4 separate regions of the Homo sapiens genome follow, and all the other regions are linked to region 4. Evidence: promoter capture Hi-C in 16 types of primary human blood cells and fetal thymus (Javierre and others, 2016). All regions are on one chromosome and are shown on one strand. Each heading gives the region's core, a stretch centred on a gene start or on the middle of the fragment in contact. The rest is flanking DNA. Distances are from core to core; before and after follow the strand shown. Region 1 holds the start of LINC02735 (long intergenic non-protein coding RNA 2735). Region 2 overlaps LINC02735 (long intergenic non-protein coding RNA 2735). Region 3 has its middle 33 kb from the start of LINC02735. Region 4 holds the start of APLNR (apelin receptor).

The links. Contacts are between HindIII fragments. The CHiCAGO score rates a contact against its expected background, and 5 or more counts as called.
Region 1: a fragment that was not itself captured here is called in contact with the fragment with the promoter of APLNR in region 4 in 10 of 17 cell types (M0 macrophages, megakaryocytes, M1 macrophages and 7 more); the score reaches 13.2 in M0 macrophages.
Region 2: a fragment that was not itself captured here is called in contact with the fragment with the promoter of APLNR in region 4 in 4 of 17 cell types (M1 macrophages, endothelial precursors, M0 macrophages and 1 more); the score reaches 6.3 in M1 macrophages.
Region 3: a contact is called between a fragment that was not itself captured here and the fragment with the promoter of APLNR in region 4, in 1 of 17 cell types (M1 macrophages). The highest score is 5.0, in M1 macrophages.

Annotation. Positions count from the first base shown.
Region 1 is chr11:56,845,090-56,850,378 of GRCh38, forward strand. It overlaps LINC02735 (long intergenic non-protein coding RNA 2735), which reads left to right and starts at 3,389. Exons shown (of 3, transcript NR_110137.1): 1 at 3,389-3,526. The HindIII fragment of the contact is 223 bases long and covers 1,475-1,697 here.
Region 2 is chr11:56,860,705-56,865,435 of GRCh38, forward strand. All of the region lies in intron 1 of LINC02735 (long intergenic non-protein coding RNA 2735), which reads left to right. Among named protein-coding and RNA genes, the nearest start is that of LINC02735, 15 kb to the left of the region's middle. The HindIII fragment of the contact is 421 bases long and covers 2,649-3,069 here.
Region 3 is chr11:56,813,359-56,818,154 of GRCh38, forward strand. No RefSeq gene overlaps it. Among named protein-coding and RNA genes, the nearest start is that of LINC02735, 33 kb to the right of the region's middle. The HindIII fragment of the contact is 3,147 bases long and covers 117-3,263 here.
Region 4 is chr11:57,236,000-57,241,283 of GRCh38, forward strand. It overlaps APLNR (apelin receptor), which reads right to left and starts at 1,251. Exons shown (of 1, transcript NM_005161.6): 1 at 1-1,251. The coding sequence starts at 1,005. RefSeq lists enhancers at 893-1,525, 4,567-5,284. The HindIII fragment of the contact is 5,179 bases long and covers 1-4,720 here.

The sequences.
Region 1 (5,289 bases), core at 336-2,835, 390 kb before region 4:
GGAGCCCTTCAGCCCGCCACTGCGCTGTGGGGGCCCCTCTCTGGGCTGGCCGAGGCCAGAGCCAGCTCCCTCTGCTTAAGGGGAGGTGTGGAGGGGGAGGTGTGGAGGGAGAGGCGCGGGCGGGAACCCAGGCTGCGTGCAGCAATCGTGGGCCAGCACGAGTTCTGGGTGGGCGTGGGCTTGGCGGCCCCGCACTTGGAGAAGCCAGCCATCTCCGCCAGCCCCCGGCAGTGAGGGGCTTAGCACCTGGGCCAGCAGCTGCGGAGGGTGCTCTGGGTCCCCCAGCAATGCCAGCCTGCCAGCACTGTGCTCCAATTCTTGCTGGGCCTCAGCTGCCTCCTTGCAGGGCAGGGCTCGGGACCTGCAGCCCGCCAGGCCAGAGCCTCCCCTGCAGTGGGCTCCTGCCGGGCCGAGCCTCCCCGATGAGCACCGCCCCCTGCTCTAAGGCACCCACTCCCATGACTGCCCAAGGGCTGACTAGTGCTGGCACATGGCGCTGGACTGGCAGGCAGCTCCACCTGCAGCCCCCTGTGGGATCCACTAGGTAAAGCCAGCTGGGCTCCTGAGTCTAGTGGGGACTTGGAGAACCTTTATGTAAGACTAGGGGATTGTGAATGCATCAATCAGCACTCTGTGTCTAGCTCAAGGTTTGTAAATGCACCAATCAATGTTCTGTGTCTGGCTAATCTAGTGGGGACTTGGAGAACCTTTATGTCTAGCTGAGGGATTGTAAATACACCAATCAGCACTCTGTGTGCAGCTCAAGATTTATAAACACACCAATCAGCACCCTGTGTCTAGCTCAAGGTTTGTAAATGCACCAATCAGTGCTCTGTGTCTAGCTAATCTAGTGGGGACTTGGAGAACTTTTGTGTCTAGCTCAGGGATTGTAAATGCACCAATCAGTGCCCTGCCAAAATGGACCAATCAGCTCTCTGTAAAATGGACCAATCAGCAGGATGTGGGTGGGGCCAGATAAGGGAGTAAAAGCAGGCTGCCAGAGCCAGCAGTGGCAACCCACTGCCGCTGGGTCCCCTTCCCCACTGTGGAAGATTTGTTCTTTTGCTCTTTGCAATAAATTTGCTGCTGCTCACTCTTAGGGTCCACGCCACCTTTATGAGCTGTAACACTCACCGGGAAGGTCTGCAGCTTCACTTGTGAAGCCAGCGAGACCACGAACCCACCAGGAGGGACGAACAACTCCCGAAACGCGCCTTTAAGAGCTGTAACACTCACCGCAAAGGTCTGCAGCTTCACTCCTGAAGCCAGTGAGACCACGAACCCACCAGAAGGAAGAAACTCTGGACACACCATCTTTAAGAACTGTAACACTCGCCGCAAGGGTCCGCAGCTTCATACTTGAAGTCAGTGAGACCAAGAACCCACCACTTCCAGACACACTTTTGATCTTTTGCAATGGTTAAGACTGGACACTCTGAGCCTCGCCTGCTCGTGTGGCATTGGCCTCATACCAAGCTTTGGAGCCTACTTGCATAAATTGCTTTCTACCCAGATTGCAGGATTTGCATGGTAAACTCTCCAGCAGTAGAAATGGAAAGGACTTTGAGTCAAGGGAGGAACACAGAGCAGGCAGCACAAAGACACACATATCCAGAGATATCTCGGGGATATTTTGCAAGCCTTCTCCTGAGGGCTGTTGATGGACTTGAATCCATTAAAATTGCTGCTTCTCTAAAAGCTTGACTCACTGTCCTAGAAACAATGTATATCAGGGTGGACTACAACTAGGATTTGGATGACAGTTTAACAATTCAGGTCCTGACTTGAAAAACCACTATAGCACTCCAGCACGTCTTTTTTCCCACCACAAAAACAATAATGCTTGGAAGTTCATAAGCAAGTAAGCTGAGTTTTTGATTCAGCAATATAGTCAGGACTCATTAAATAAGGGTGGGAATTATCCCTATGCCAAGGAGCCAAATGCTACTTGAATGTAAACATGACTTGGGAACACAGAAGGTGAATCTCATGTACAACAGGATGCAGAACTGAGAAGCAAACCTCAAGGAGGGCCTTGCAAGTGTTAATGAGTGAATGCCATCCCCACCACAGCCAGCCTGAGTGCATGTTGGAGACCGCATGCCCCAGGTTTCCTCCCACACAGCACAGAAAGGAATGGTCAGAGTTACGCAGTGATTTACATTCACCCTCTGATCGGGAAGCCCAGAAAACATGGACTAAATCCCAATACAGTGGAGTTAGAGATAAATATCTAGGGCTGCTTTCCTCTTTATTTCATTTCCTGCTCATAGCAAAGAATCTGGTCATGGAGAGGGAAGCCTAATTCTAACAAATCTACTCTTAAACAAAACTATTTCGCAGCCCAGGGTTTTTGCAGGGACGATAATGTTTTCAGCCAGACTCTGCCCAGCAATTCCAGAATCATCAGGGATAAGCTCGCAATTCAATAAAAGGCTACAGAAGCAAACTAGGCATGGATGTCACTCCACAAGAATACACAAAGATTGATCATGGCAAGAGTGTGATGAACAAAAACAGTCCTCATATCTAGATTTACAGCCTTCTCTTCTCAGCTCCCCAGTCCAGGCAAAACATTTAGCCGTGGTCAATTTAATGCTATGCCTCCTTTTTCTGTCTCCAAAAAAGAAAGGTCAGAAGTGGGATGAACAGACCCTTGCAAGAAAATCGGAGTGGAAAATAAACCGCCCTCTCCGGGGAGCTGAAACCAGAAAATGTATGACAACTGAGCAGCTCATCAGATGGAGGGGAGAAATACCAAAAGACAAGAGAGATCAGGGAAGGTATGGGCAGAAATGAGAAGAAAAATTTTTCTAAAGTAGAAAAGTGAGTGGCTCCTGTAAGTTGCGAGTGCTAGAAAATAACAGAGGACAGGTGGAAAATAGGCACTTTGAATTTGCACTTAATAGGCTTTTGGTAAATGTAAAAAACAGTTTCTTCCTTTGAAAATGTTTTTAAAAAGCAAGATATTCACCAAAGACATATGAATGCCCATTAACAGATCAAAATGTGTTGAAACAAAATTGTGATTAAAAAGGCATCGTATTGACTCTACCAAAATGGCGAGTGGCAGCAGGGGACACACAGAGATGCTGCTGTCCCTGCAGTTCTCAATCCCAGTCCCAAGAGGTTCATTACGCTAACGGAACTTCTGTGCTGCGTGACTGCATGGCTAATTTGCAGCCGCTATCCCTCCAGCTAAAAAATGTCTAGACAGGGAGGCTCCTGACACAAATAGAGACATTAATGATTAACATGAAATTCATCTTTACATCAGTAGCAGGATAATGGAAGTTTATAGGAATAAAAGGCCCGTTGTCATTTGGCAGTTTGTGAGGATGAGCACATCATATTTTAAGGTTTAGGGTCTTTAGACACATACTCCCTTAGTATACTAAGGACCTGGAGGCAATCTTGCCAGACTTCCTCTGCAGGCATCTTTAATTTTCTTGTATCATAAATTTTTATCTTACATTCTATACAAGGGGGAATCACTGAGCTGATGAGTGAGCCTAACCATTTGCCCGTAAGTATGAGGCTTTGTTGTTTTATATTCAGTGTGAATATGATAACTCACATAACCTCTCTTATGAACCTCTCTTTTTCTCTTTTTGGGTGGGGGGGGGTGATTTTTTAAATGGCCTTGAAAAGAAAGCCAACTTCTGGTATTGGAGATGGAAGCAAAGAATAATAAAGAGTAAAAGTAATCGTTCTCAGATTGAAAACAAAAGATTTGCTGTAATGTAAAAATGGAAAATCAAATTTAGTAAAAGCTTATATCTACAAGTTGAATAAATTCAAATGCTGCTTACACAGAAATAGGAGAAAAATTTAATAGAACTATTTCAGGAGCATTGCCAACGCTGAAAAAGCTACTTGTCAAGTGAGAGATACAACAGTAGTGAAATCTGAAAAGGTGATTTACTTTTCATGCCAGGATTAGCACAGGAAAACAAATGGTTCTTAGTAGAAATGTACTTCAGGACAAAGTCAGAAACTTGGCAATACACATTCTTAAATTACACATAGTAAAATGTTCTAGTGAGCTTGTCTAATCCAAGTTTACTATTGAGTAGAAGTTTACCACTGAGTTGGTAAGAGAATTTTAAGGGCTGTTTTCCCTGCTTCATATAATCAAACAAAGAACATTGACTGACTTTCCTGATTTATCAGATATTTTTGTTTTTATGTTTTTCCTGAACTGAAAAGCCAAAGTGGCCCATTGCAGAGGAGGTTAGAAACCAAAATAAATGATCAACACAGACAGCATATATCTACAGTAGATGAAAGTGCTTTGGCACACAAATATCCCCAAGACAGATGAGCTTCTGGGTTAAAGCAGGTAAAAAGTGACTCATCTTCTTTAGGACAATGCTGAAGTCTTCATTTTAAGCTGGACTTGTTTCACCATTTAGGAAAACCCCCATGATGCCAAGAGAGAACAATAAGAACTTAGTGAGGGTATATTGACAGTATAAAAAAAGGAAAGAATAATAATGCCAGTATTTTTTCATGTATTAAAACATGTATCCCAGATAAAACATGTGTCCCAGAATTTAAAGTAAAATAAATAAATAAAATTAAATAAAAATGCTTCAACAATGCCACATGAAATAAATTTTAATAGTCTTCTTTATTTTAGTAACTTTATCCATTACTTTAGTCTTATATTTATAGAAATGTTAATGCCCAAAGAACCAACTGAAAAGTAGAGAACAGAAAGTTCTCAGAAAAAGAAATGTAACTGCAGCCCTAAACTTATGAAAAGATACTCATCCCTCTCATACAATGAAAATTAAGACTACACAGAAATAGCATTTCTCACCTATTTGGTAAAAATTCAAAAGCTTAATAATACACCAGCTTCTGGGGAAACTGTAGAGAAACAGGCACTCTCTCACATTGCTATAATGAATGTGCAGTATGTTTCAACTTCTAAGGAATGCAATTGTGTAATATCTATCAAAATTATAAATGCGAAATATCCATTGTTCTTTATCCATTGACAGATGAGTAGATAAAGAAAATGTGGTATATACGTACAACAGAATATTAGTCAGCCTTAAGAAAGAGAGAAATTCTGCCATTTGTGGCAACATGGTTATACATTAAGTAAAATAAGTCAGATACAGAAAAACACTGTATGATTTCACTTATATGTGGAATCTAAAATAGTCAAACTCATAGAAGCAGAGGGTAGAATGGTGGTTGCCAAGAGCTGGGGAGAGGGGAGAATGAGGAGTGATGGTTAAAGGGACAAAGTTTCAGTTATGCAGGAGAATTTAATAC
Region 2 (4,731 bases), core at 1,609-4,108, 370 kb before region 4:
AAACTAACCTATTTATCTTTATATCTCCTAAAGGGCCTAATACATCTCTAGGTGCACAGAAAGGATTTAGTTCCATATTTGACGAAAGGACAGGGCTGAGTTATCCTTAGTGTTCAACTCCTCCATTTTAGAACCAGACCATATAGAATAGGTCAGGAATTGAAAAGAGATATCTTTATGAAATATCCAAACAGAGGGGAAAGGACAGCAAATAAACATCCAATAAAACTAGTCATAGCTGAGTGACACTGTGCCAAATTAGAAAGAACATCAGCTAGAAAGCCAGATCCAAATATGTCAGATTCCCAAGTCACTTTCCAGCTCTGGAACTTTGAACGGGTCCCTGTCCATTCTCAATCTCATTTGCAAAATGAGGCTACAGGTCTGCTGTGAAGACAACTGGAGAAATTGCAATTAACATTTTAGAACATTATAGGTTATGCGGTAACAACAACAACTACAAGAATCAGCAGACCAACCACAGAGCTGAATGTGTTATTGAGCCTCAGTGTGCAGAGGCATGAAAGGGAGGTTTGTGACTTTATCTTGTCACCTGAAGGGTTCATTAGACCTTCAGAAGGCACCTTTTCCCTTCTGTGAGAATTTGTTTTGCAGGCTCTGCAATTATCATCAGATCATCATCATCAGATGATGCACAGGACATGAGATTGAAAACAGCACATCCAAAAAACAAAAAAAGTATGCACCTAGAATGAAATACCTAAGGACATTTCTAATTAGGGAGGGAGAGAGTAATCAGGGATGATGCTGAAAGGAGATGTCAGGCCTGGCATTGCTAAAATGAAAAGGAAGGGAAGCTAGGAGTTATTTTAACTGAAACTTGCACCCACCCACCCAGCCTCCTCCATCTCAGAGAATCGATGACAGAATAGAATTTGAACATCTCTGGGTTTTAGTTAGCCATTGACACATTGATTCCCTCTATAAGCAAGTATTGAGCACTAGTTAGTGGCAGGTTTAGGAAACTGAGAAATAAGGAATTCATGGTCTAGTTCAGGAAAGATACAAATGAGGTATGACAAGAGCTACAATCGCACCATACCCAGGTACGGTAAGAATACAAAGGAGTTCCAGCCCTACCAAGAGTGATCATTATAAGATAAAAGTGATATGGAAAACTGAGTTTTGAAAAATGACCAAGGGGTTTCCAAGAAGGCAAGGTGTGTGGGGTACTCCAAGCAAAAGGAGTTGCTTCCGTGTGACTCTACACATAGTCTAGCTCCTGGCAAGTTGTAGGAGCACAGAAAATGCAAGAGGGTGGCAGATGGCAAACCACAGGTGGGCAGAGACCACACACTCTCCCTTTCTTGTGTACCTCCCAATAATTCCTAGCAGGATATTTGGCACATTATGTGTTCTCAGGAGATCAGAGTTCTTAAACACCTTGTTATCTGTAGACCTAACCTTTATATCTAGTAGGGAGAATTCAGAAGTGTACTTTATCTATGGTCAACAGGAGGAGACTGATTGCCTGAAGATGATCTGGTAGCAGCCAGGCTCCTGGCCCCATTCTGAAGAACTTGACATAGCTGGAAAATCAGACATGGCTGGAAGAAACTTCAGATATATTGTTTCTTAACTTGGCATCTCAACAACTCTAAGAAAAAATCCATTTTTATTTAAATTGTAAAAATAATGTGTCTATTAAGATTACCACCCTTGTTATCAAGTTCTGACATGTAATTTTGATGCTCAATTTTTATGTTTGTTGTTTTGAATATCTTGACCCCAAATGAACATCCAAAGTGACCGCTTTTGACTTCTAATTCAGTATTTTTTGGGATTTCCAAGTCCTCCAGCTTGAGAACAACTTCATTGGATACAATGTCTCAATGAAAGATAAAGATATGGAGACCCAGAAAGGAGAAATAACTTTGTAGTGCATCCAGCTGCTCAGTAAGGTGACTAGAACCCAGGGTGTTTCAATGTTTGCCATATCCCAGTCCAGCCACCAACCCTCTGAAAAGGCAGTCAACAGTACTATCACTTCCAAGATCTCCAGATATAAATCCAAATTTCAAATTCAGCTCACAATTCACAGTGGTGCATTTGACCTTTATGGTAAAAGTTACAGTTTCTACTTTATCTTGGACAATATCCATGCCCCACCTCTCTGAGAAGCAGACAGAATAGGTCAGGATAAATTAACTCCTATTTAGGGAAATAAGAATAGCTTTTTTGTAAAACCAAGTTCTCTCATTGTATAGAATTTGTGACTTCACACATACTTTACTTACATTATGAAGAGATGATACCATGAAATTTCTGATTGTGAAGAAAACATTGCTTTATTGTTAATTTAAGAAAGGTAGCCACTGCTTTTCTGTTAGGAAATTTTGAAAGCAGAGCAAGCCATCAATTTTTGACGTCTTTTACATATATTTGGTAACAAGTAGTCACTGAATAAATGACAAATTGATGTTACCTAAATACTCAATGCAATAAATAGCTTAGAACTGGGAGATGAGTGAGCCACAGGGTATGGGGATTTGTGGAACTCTAAGAACATGGCTATTCAGCAGAATCACCTGGGGAACACTTTGAAAAATGCAGACTCTGGAACCCAACCCCAGACTAACTGAATCAGAATTTCCACAGGCTGGTATCCAGAACCTGACATTTATACAAGCTTTTCAAGTAACTTTGATGATTATCTAATCCACCCAAATGAACTCCTGCCATATTTTTCAGAGCAAAAGTTTCTAAGTCAAAATGATGAAATCAACAATCAGTCAATTATAATCCTACATGAAATATAAAATCTTCCAAGATCAAAATAATTCAGAACAGCTGCCACTTTTTTTTCATTTAACTGTTTCCTCCACTTGAGACCCTATTTACTTATTCATTGAACAAATAATTATAAAATGCCTACAGTACTACAGCTGGGGATATAATTGTGAATATAATATATACGGCCATTTTATCAGGGAACCTATATACCTCAGTCACTGGAGTACTATGAGAGTTCTATCCAGGAAGTTTTTCTGAATTTATAAACTTGACTTCTTTTTCCTGGCATCTCACTTTTCACACTTGCTGCAGACAAGCTTCTTGGCTTCCTGGTCTAAGTGGTGGAAAGTAACCACTGCCAACAGCTCTCAGATTCACATCTCCTCCCTTCATGATGATAACTACTTCCAAAAGAAATTCACTGGCTTGACATGGGTTGAGTAGGTCTCCTGGGGCAGCCCGTGGCCTGGAGGAAAGAGTTCCATTATAAGAACATGATGCTCCAATGGAACCATGTCCTTAGAAAGAGGTTAGGGCAATTCCATTGGAAAGAGATGAATAGACAATTTGATACATTCCAACTGCACTTCTCTGAGGACTACCCGTGCACCTCACAGCATGAATCCTATGCCATTCATTTGGGCTGCTCAGAGTTTTCTTCTTGTCTGAATTTTGGCTCTGTTCAGGTAATTGAGTTATTTTTTCATTCTTTCATTATTCATTCATAAAACATTTATTAGACATTGACCTGGTCCACATCTTCGGGATAAGAAAAAGAAAAAAAGAAGCACCATGTTGTTTCTCTTGGAGCTCACAGATTACTGAAGGAGGCAAATGTATAGACACGTAATGATTATTTACTGTGACAGAGACATGCACTAAGTACTAAGGAAACCCAGGGGAAATTTAATGAATTTCACAGATTTCCCTAAATGAGTCTTAATGAATACAAGGGAGTTTTCTAGATTGGCTAGAGTGAGGGGGCTCCCAAAGTATGTTATGATAACGAAGTTAAGGAATGTGTAGCAGAAGGAAGTTTCATGGCTGAGAGGTGAAGTAGTGACTATAAATGGAATAATACAAAAAAAAGTCTTCCCAGCCATATCATTGGCAAGCTGTGCAAACTTGGGCAAGTTACTAAAACTTTCTATATTTACCTCATAAAATTGTGGTGAGAATTAACTTTCTAGTGGAGGTGAAGTTAATTTTTAAAGTAGTGCTGGAATGTCTTGAATTCTTAATAAATTTTTAGGTATTAATGTTTTATTATTATATTTAATAATGTTTTATTATTGTTATCATGATCATTATCATCATTATTTCAAACAAATATGTGACTCCAAGATATGCTTCTAAAATTTTTACTTGTGAGAGGAGAGTTTATTTTGTTTATCATCATATCACGGAGATTGTGATTTGGACTTGGCCCAGGGTACAAAGTAGTGTAATAGGAAAATAAATCTTGGGACCCCAAAATCACTAAGCCAGAGGGAAAAGTCAAGCTGGAAACTGCATAGGGCAAACTTCCCTCCCATATTATTCCTAAATAACATAGCTACAAAGATAAGAAGCTACATTCATTTCTCACAATTTTCCCAGAAGGAAATTTCTTGTGGACAAAGAACAGACAGAACTCAAAGTCATCCCTCTGAGCTCACCTGAGACAAATATAGATCTGATTGCTTCCTCTGCCCTACTGTTTATGTAAAAATGCAGATTCACTGATCCAGACTAAATTGTGTATTCAGAAGAGGGCTGATCAAGGACTCCAAAGAATGCAACCTTTTATCTCTTATCTACTTCTAATGTGGAAGCCCCCACTTCGAGTTGTCCCACCTTACCAGACCAAACCAATGTATATCTTACACATATTGATTCATGTCTCATGTCTCCCTAAAATGCATAAAAGCAAGCTGTACCCTGACCACCTTGGGCACATGACCTCAGGACCTCCTGAGGATGTCACAGGTGCATCCC
Region 3 (4,796 bases), core at 440-2,939, 420 kb before region 4:
CTCTCTCATTTGTGTAACTCTTCGGAATCTACACATGCACATACACTTATACATGTTTCTATATGCAAAAAAGTTCTCAAAAAATACAACATAAATTCTGTTTGGAATGGATAGGAAGCTTATCTTGTTTACATTTCCTAGTGTACTATTTGAATTTTGTACCATGTACAATCATACTGTATTATAAAAACACACTTTAAAATATAAAAATACTTTAATGTAATAAGTTGTATGAAGTTTTTAATCAAATGAAAGGTATTTATATCAATGGATAGAAATCAGGATATAAAATAGCATGTACAGTATATCCATTCACAGAAAAGACTCACAACTTAGGACCAAAACTTCCATTTTATGAATGTCTTCTCCAAACTTGTAAATTCTCTTTACTGCCACCCTTTTGCAAAAACATAAGTAATAATACTATTCTCCAACCACTGACCAAGAAGAAACTCATTTCTTTAAGCCAAAATATGAATATTGATATTCCCAGCAGTTTATTTGAATCAGATTTGTATATTCTCCTGACCCACACACAGTCATTTAAAATGAAATGTGGTCACTTTCTCACTGGGCAGGGTCAGTGCATGATGCAACTGTTCCTCCCATTACTAGCAGAGAATAAGAAGGTTAAAATCAGCTCCTGACTAAATGACTGTCCCTAGATAAAGTATAGATGAAAACTATTTCCATTTGTTGCAATGATCAGTATAGCAAACTCTGTTTGTGCCTCTCTCTTATCATTTCAGTGCACTTCAGTTCCATCTTCAACTGCTAACACCAAAGGTTTTTGTGTGTGGATTTGTGTGTGTGTGTGAGGATTTATCTTTCCGCCGCTTTTCTACCTGCCTAACAAGCTGGAAGTGGCAGAAAATGAACACTTTCCAGGAGCAACTGTCAACCAAAGACTGGCTTATGTAAACATTTCTTGACTCAGGCTCTCTCAGGTGGGAATACTCTGATTCTTGTGTTTTATGCACTGGCACCCAGAGATCTCCAGCACTGGCAGTGCTCAGTTGACCACTGCAGTGATCTTCTCATTAACACTTTAAATAGTTCAATAAATAGCTGTATACTACATAGAATCCAAAAGGTAACCACTAGAAGAGATAAGAACTGATTACCATGTTTCTAAATTATCAAATGGAATATACACCTTTATACCATCACTCCCAAAATAAATATAGGAAACTCTTCCAGAGAGTATTAATTTCTTTCCATTCATTATCTCACTTCTAACTTCCCTGTCAATGTTTTAGTTGCTTCCCAAATAAACTATTATCAACCAATGCTTGCACTTGAATCTTTTCCTCAAGGTTTGTTTCCTGGAAAACTCAAACTAAGATGCCTCGTACCAGAGTGACCCTTAAGGTGCAGATTATTGGGATGTAATTCTGGAATCAAATTACTCACTGGAAAGATGGCAACAATACCCATTGCTGATGGAACAGAATGGTAATAACCATGGGCATGCCTTAGCATCTCAGTTACCAAGACTCACCTGCAGTGAATTGGGATAGGGTACAAGTGAGAGATGTATGTTGACTTATGCAACATGAGAAATATGGGGAGCAACAATAATTATTAAACTATGAAATTAATTTACATTAAATGTCTTTAATATGCTCAATGATGAAAACAGACTCAAATAGGACAATTTTCAACTCAGGCATGGTGTCAAAGTCAGAAAGGCAATGTTCAAAAAACATTCATCTTCAATTAGAGACCAGACTGCATGAAAACTCTACCCAGACTGCATGAGAACTCAATCAGATTTGTATATTACAGATGTTACACATCTTGTACCAGGTTGCAAGAAGTAATAATAAAAAAGCTAAATTCAAAGCCTCTTTAGAGCCACAGAACTCTGACAGGGGAAAAGCTGAACACTGAGAATTGGGATTAAGACATCGGTGTGTATGTGCTTGAGATTTTCCAGTACCCTTGAAACCTTGAACCTGCAGAAGTAGTCCTGTTCCCTTTGCCAGAAGGCAGCAGCCTTCCTTTGCTTAGAGAGAATAAAGAGGCCTCACATGAGTCAGAGCATTCACAAGAGAGTAATTTCTTTTCTCAGGATGTAGTCTTTCTTCCCCTCATGGCTCTTAGACTTAGCAACCAGGGTCAAGGCTTAGAATGATGAGGTGTGATGACTAAGGAGAATTGGCTCTACTTTAAGAGGAAAATGATTACCCACCAGGAGTTCAAAGAATTGGCTAAAATGTGCCACAAGAACAAGGAGAACATATAAAAGCATATATTAATATCTTGAGGGTAATTCTAGGACTGGGGAAATAAAAAGCTGAGTAGGGGAGAATTTTCTGACATAGGAGAACCTCAGTGACTCAGAAATTAGCTTGCAGGCAGGACACCAGAAGCTGATTCTAATGCACTGTTAGGATGGCTCTTTGAATTTTGGAAAAAATAACAGCATGCAGTAAAAGAGGTAGGGATGCCATTATTGCCATGCAGAGTGTTGAAGAAAAGGCCCAAATGCTCAAAGAGGTAGAGATGCTTAAAAAGGATTTATTACACAAGACCAAAGAAGCTACAGATGCATGTATACCTGAGAAGACCCAAAGGACACTTTTTCCACTAAAGCAATAAAGATAAGCACTAGAGAGCCACCAGCTTGGTGAAAAGCTCAGTCGTTTGAGATGCTGCTATGGATCTAGGCTTCCTGGAGTCACTGGAGATGATAGGATTCCAGAACACTTGAATTGGAAATTAATGCCACCACTAAAGACATAAAAAATGTAGCAGCAGTTGTCTCTTTTCCCTCTCTATTTAATTCATCAGCCTGGACCCTGAAGACCCATATGTTTTCTAGAGAATGAATATAGACTGCCTCGAGTTCAGCCAAGTAGTAGCCCCAATAGCAGTGTTATACTAAACACAGAATCATTTAAAAGGTCTCCAGTATATGATACAGTCAGTGATTTGGGGAATGAATTATTTTCTGTTGCGGTTAGAAAAGAGGATCAGAAATGACTTACATTCATGTGAGATGAACGATACTGTATTCACTTTCAATTATGTCTCAAGACTATGTTAGTTTTCCTGCCCAAGGAAATATAGAATGAAGATATTGTCCACCTAAGCATTTCTCAAAACATCATACTGATTTATTACATTGATAACATCATAATGACAGAGCAAGTTACACAAGTTGTTACTAGAATATTGGAGATCTTGGTAAAGCACATGTGCTACAGGGGGTATGAGATAAACCATATTAAGATTTGGGAATTTGGACACTTAGGGAAAGCTTTTGCAGGTTCAGTGCTTAGGGGAATACTAGAATAACTCCTTTGAAGTGAAGATCACAGAGGCAGTGTCTTGGTAGGACCCTGGGTTTTGGAAGCAACACATTCCATAGCTAAGAATATTGTTCCAGCCGCTATACCAAGTGACACAAAGGCTGCTAGTGTTAACTGGAATCTGCTGCAGGAAAGGGCTCTGCAGCAGATCCCAGTTGCAGTCCAAGCAGCCCTGCCACTTGAGCCACGTGATGTACAACAGATGTTATGATGTTGAAGGTTGCAGTAGTGGGAAAAGAAGCAGTGTGGAGCTTATTACAAGACTCAGTGGGAATCTGCCGTTTGACATTTGAATGCATTCTTAAGTAAATGTGTTTATATTATACATCATTCTAATGGACATGTCTCACTTTATGTTTTTTTTGCTAATGACTTATTACTTGCCATTTATTTTATATTTATTTTAGACTGTGGAAATGATGTTAGACAAAAAGCAAATTTGAATGATTATCTTATTCGAGTTCAAAATGGGTTGTAAAGCAGCAGAGACAACTCTCAACACCAGCAATGCATTTGGCCCAGGAACTGCTAACAGATGTACAGTGCAGCAGTGGTTCAAGAAGTTTTGCAAAGGAGACAAGAGCCTTGAAGATAAGGAGCATAATGGCCGGCAATCAGAAGTTGGCAATTACCAAATGAGAGCAATCATCAATGCTGATCTTACAACTACACAAGAAGTTGCCAAAAAGCTTGATGTCAACCATTCTACAGTCATTGAGCATTTGAAGCAGATTGGAAAGGTAAACAAGCTCAATACATGGGTGCCTCATGAGCTGAGCAAAAATTTTTTAAAAATGTCTTTTTGAAGTGTTGTCTTCTCTTGCTCTACACAATAACAAACCATTTCTCAATCGGATTGTGAGGTGCAACAAAAAGTGGATTTTATATGTCAATCGGCAATGACCAGCTCAGTGGTTGGACTGAGAAGAAGCTCTAAAGTGCTTCCCAAAACCAAACTTGCACCAAAAAAAGGTCATGGTTGACAGAGCAGGAGCACCATTATCTCAGACAAACACTGCTACTTTAAGTTCCAGCTCCCTTTCTAGCTTCACAGATTCCAAGGAATCACTTTCTCTTCTAACTACAAGCAGCCAGAAAAGAGCAGACAGTAAAACACAGATAACACAGCTCAGGTGCAGAGGAGGGTGGGGAGGAAGTCTCTTGGGTAACTGCCAAACTTCACGCTCATACAATGGGGCCCCAGTAATAAGCACATTCCTTTCCTTTCAGGTCCACTAAGATAGGGAAGCTAAAGGCAGACTCGGGCGAGGTGCTTGCAGCTGCAGAAAGGTGTATGGGAACTGACACACAACTTTCCCTCCCAGATAAGCACAACAAAGAGACACAGAAGCAGTCCAAGCCTCTAATAAACTCTCCCACACTGAATCCTTAAAAACTCTTAGTCTGTAAGAGAGTGCAGCTTTTGACCTAACTCAGCCTGAAGTCCCTCCCATGTTTGTTTTCCGAAATAAACCATTA
Region 4 (5,284 bases), core at 1-2,500:
GGAGGTGCCTGCGCACCTGCTCTGGCCACAGCAGAGCATGGAGGTGCAGGCCTGGCGGAAGCGGGGGTCGAAAAAGGCATAGAGGAAGGGGTTGAGGCAGCTGTTGACGTAGCTGATGCAGGTGCAGTAGGGGAAGATGTTCATGAGGAAGAGGTCAAAGTCACAGGGCCAGTGCAGCAGGCTGCCCAGCATGTACAGCGTCTTCACCAGGTGGTAGGGCATCCAGCACAGGGCAAAGGTCACCACCAGCACCACGATGATGCTGAGCAGCCGGCGCCGCTTCCGCAGGCCCTCGATGCGTTCCTTGCGGAAGTGGCCAGCGATGGTTTGGGCGATGAAGAAGTAACAGGTCAGCATGATGGTGAAGGGCACCACAAAGCCCACGGTGGTGGACGAGACCCCAAGGCCCACCTCCCAGGCCCACTCTGAGCTCACAGTGGCCACCATGGAGTAGTCCATGTAGCACTGCACCTTAGTGGTGTTCTCCAAGTCCCCGGTGGTGCGTAACACCATGACAGGCATGGCCAGGAGGGCGGCCAGCACCCAAAGAACTGCCGTGGCCACGGCCCCGCTGACCCGCAGCCTCAGCCGAGCATTGGCCACTGGCCTCACGATGGCCAGGTAGCGGTCGAAGCTGAGGCCGGTGAGGCAGAAGACGCTGGCGTACATGTTGACGAAGATGAGGTAGCTGCTGAGCTTGCAGAAGAAGGTCCCAAAGGGCCAGTCATAGTCCCGGTACGTGTAGGTAGCCCACAGGGGCAGCGTCACCACGAAGGTCAGGTCAGCCACCGCCAGGCTAGCAATGAAGATATCAGCTGAGCGCCTCTTCTCCCGGCTGCTCCGAAACACGGTCCAGAGCACCAGACCGTTGCCCGTGGTGCCCAGGAGGAAGACCAACATGTAGATGGCAGGGATGAGGGCCCCCGAGGATTTCCAGTCTGTGTACTCACACTCAGACTGGTTGTCTGCCCCATAGTAGTTGTCAAAATCACCACCTTCCTCCATGCTGGGGAGTGGAGAGAAGACGGGCAGAGGGTCCCAGGGACACCAGCTCCGTGGCTCTGTCACCCACTCTGCAAGCAGCCTGAATTTCTGGCTTGAGCCTCAGAGAGTAAGAAGGGCTGAAGATGCCCAGAGTCCTTCCCAGCACTCAGGAGGAGCTGCCTCTGGGTTCTCCAGACCCTGGAGGAAGCCTGTCTCCTGCAGAATTTCCTCCACCCTCTCTTGCCTTACCCCCGTCTCAGTTAAGACACTTCCTTGCACCCTCCTGCGTCCCTGTCTCCTCCTTGACTCGTCACTCCCTCCTCCCACCTCCAGACCAGCCCCTCTCTTGTGAGTCAAAATCTTTAGTGACAGCCCACTTTTTTTTTCTTTTTGTCACTGAGCAAGTGGACCAAATTGACCCCTACTGTGCTGGGCTGAACATTATCTGTGGTTTTGCAAGTCGGCTTTCCTGGCCCCGCCTCTCCTTTCTGGCTGCCACCCACCTTCACCCCAGCCCCTATCCCTCCACTTTCCTCTGGCCACCACTTCCTGCCTGCCCTTTAGGGCACTCCCTCCTCAGTGCTCTCCGCCCTCCTGTTCTCACCCCCTTCCATCCAATCTAAATGGGACACATTATGCAGATTGCAATCCAGCTTGAGCTGGAGCCAGGGCTGGTAGGGAGCAAGGAGGGTGTAAGATTTCGCAGGATGGGCAGGGCATCTGGCAGGTCCTCCTGGCAGGCAGGTCTGGCCCCCTCGGCTCCCTTCCTGCACCCCCAGCCCCCACCCAGACCAGGTGTCACAGGAGGGTCTTCTCCCACTTTGCCTCTCGCTTCATCTTTCTCTACCCCTTGGCTTTGACCCTCCCTCTGAGAACTTTTGTGGTTTCTAGAGAAATACCCCTACACTAGTGTAGACTGCAGTTTGCAGTTTGCGGAAGGCACAGGATGCTTTAGAAGGTTGAGGGCAGTCACAGGATGGAAGAAACCCAGGACAAAATTATCTCTAAACAAGTCATTAAATCTGTAGGAAACAAAGGCCCAACAAGGTCAATGTTTTGCCCAAGGTAATAAAGTGAATTATGCTACAGTTGATTGTTTGCTTTTCTTCTTCTCCAAACACGAACATAATACAGTACCTGGCATGTCGTAGGTGAATGGCTGTTTTGTTTGTTTGTTTGTTTGTTGAGACAGAGTTTCACTCTTGTTGCCCAGGCTGGTCTAGGCTCACTGCAACTTCTGCCTCCTGGGTTCAAGCGATTCTCCCGCCTCAGCCTCCCTAGTAGCTGGGATTGCAGGCTAATTTTTTTGTATTTTTAGTAGAGATGGGGATTGACCAGGCTAGTCTCAAACTCCTGACCTCAGATGATCCACCCACCTCGGCCTCCCAAAGTGCTGAAATTACAGGCATGAGCCACCACGCCCAGCCAGGTGAATGGCTGTTGAGTGAGTAAGTGGATGGATGATGTAGGAGGTGAGTGAAAAGGGGAATCCATAGATGGAAGAACAAGTGTAAGAATTACTACGTGGTGAGAACATGGATACATTTCAGTTCTCAGGTTTTTACTATCCTCCATGGACCAAGAGGTTTCTGTAAGACCACAGGGGGTCAGGAAGTTGAGCTAGAGGAGGGGGGTCTCTAGAGAAAGACTCAGTCACTGGAGGATACTGTGGGGAAAGTTCCGTAGACGCTCACTTTGCCCCAGCTCATCACCTCTCCAGGACCTCTAGGAAGGAAGGAAGATGCACGACGTAAGATTTTTTTTAAAAAATACGCACCCTTTCCACAACCTTGAAGAGTTGGGGAAGCCACCTGACGTTGGGTAATAGTGAGATGGAACAAAAGCAGGAGCTGAGCCTTAGCCACTTCCAAGGCAAAAGACTTACAAAAGCTGGAATTGGCCAGGCAAGGTGGCTCATGCCTATAATCCCAGCACTTTGGGAGGCCAAGGCAGGAAGACTGCTTGAGCCCAGGAGTTCAAGACTAGCCTGAATAACACAGCCAAGACCCTGTCTCACGATATATATTTGTCTTAAGTTACTACAAAAGCTGGAATCCATTTTCTGGAGGGAGAGTGGATCAGAAAATCATATGCAGAGATCAAGGAACTCAAACTCAAATACCTGCAAAAAAAAAAAAAAAAAACAGGCCAAGAGTGTAGTTTGAGACAACAGAGAATGGTAAAGACTGTGGCAAACTGGAGGGTGCCCATTCCATCATAGGGAGGCCTCTTCAGCTCTAGTCTCTGGTTGCCACGCAGAAAGCTGGACCCCAGCATGACTGTGTCTTAGGATTTTTCCAAGATAATTTCAAATTATGGATTTTTGTAAGAAATTTTCATATTTGTAAATTTTGGAAATCAATTTTCATTTCAAAAAAAAGCACAGACCATGATAAGTAAAACATGTCTTTGGCCCCCGAGTTTGTGTTCTTTAAACAGGAGCTTGCCAAGAATAGAAGGCAGGAGAAGAACCAAGAGGATGGGGCAGGAGGAGGAAACAAAAAATGCAAAGATAGAAAAAGCCTTAGAGTGCAGTGGGGAGATACAGGAGAGAAGGCTGCAGAGAGAGATTAGAAAGATCCTGTGACCTTCACCTAAATGCAATGTGGAGTAATGAATATGTTGGTGTTTCTCATGAGGACTACATGTTGCCCACTTATTGTGTGCCAGGCAGTCTTCTAAACATTTTATACATTCTACATATATTTATTAGTATCTCTTTTAATCATCAAAATGACATTAGGAGGCAGGTGCTCTCATTAGCCTCAATTTACAGATGAGGAAACTGAGGCACACAGAGGTGAAGCAGTTTAGCCAAGATCACCCAGCAGTAATTGTCAGAGCCAGAATTTGAACCAAAGCTGTCTCGAGCCCATGGACTAAACCACTATGCTCCCAAAGAAAAACGCCCAATCCTTTTTAAACTGAGGGGTGTGTCATCTGTTAAGCATTAGAGAAATGTAGGGCGATGCCAGGATACCTGTAATTTACCTTAAAATAAGCTCTACCGGGTGAGATTTTAAATAGATTGACTATTTAGAGACACACCTCACATTGATTAGACAGGGTATAAGAATCCTGCCAGGCAATAATCTGTACACTTAGGGTTAGCACCATAGACTTGATCCAGAAACCACCCTCGCTCTAGCCATTGCCAAAGAGAATTCCTGGTTGCCTGGTGCCAGCTAGAAAGCTAACAGGACTCTGCCCCTGGAATCTTGGCATTCTGTACAGTGGGGGCTGGGACACCCAATAGGATCCAGAGCTGGGGCTCCATCCATCTCACAGTACACAGGGTAGGAATTGCTTGGGGCCTCTTGCTCCTGCATTTTTGGCTAATAGAAGTTCTGCGCAGATGGCAGAATGGTTTTCATTATATCCTGACATTCATTCATCATATCATGATTCATTCATCATATCCTGATATAATAGTTTCATTATATCCTGACATTATATCCTGGGTGGAAATAGCTAACCTTTGGCTACCTCAGACTTCTTCAGTGGTAAGCTATCTTTACCTATCAAAGGGGACCTTGGAGTTGTGCAGGGACCAGCTTGGCTCAGGTCAGGTCATAATAGATGGCCCTTTTACGAGTAAACATTACTGCTTGGGACATTCCAGGATAAAGACCAAGTTTGAGACGCCTAGTGATCCCAGTTCTCCCATGATTCTCCCAGAAAGATGCAGATGTCTGTGCCCTTTGCAGCTAGAAATACAGAGAGAAGGGAGCTAGCAAGCTTGAAGCGTCCCTGAAATCAGGTCCCTGTCTCCCTCCCCTCAGCTGTTCCCACTGGAATGCTGAGCCAGACAGGAGCCTGGAGACCCCTGTGGGAAAGGATATGGATCCATCGCTTTCATCTGCCGACCTCCAGGATGTCTGCCCTAGAGGGAGTAAAGAGCAGTTAATCTCACTAGAGTTACCAGACTCATTGAGAGGGGAGGGAATTGGGGGCCAGGGCTGGGAAGAGGCCACCGTTTGGGACCAGAGAGGGTAGAGTGCTGATAAGATCCGGCCTCCAACCAGGAGCCAGCTGTAGCCAGATGGCCTGAGTGCCCCCTGCAATGACAGCCTGAAGTGAGCAGAATTAGCCAGCTCACTCCTTATCCTGCCTGATCTGATCTGTCCCTGTTCCGCATTGCACCATTCCACACAGAAGAAAGACTGGAAAATAGGACCAGTAGCTGAAGATGAAACTTGTGTGTCCCGGGGCTCAGAAGTATATGGGTCCTGGGCCTCACAGACTAGACATATACAAGGCCTGGGACAGATATCTTCTTTTCATTTCTGCCCCCCACCCT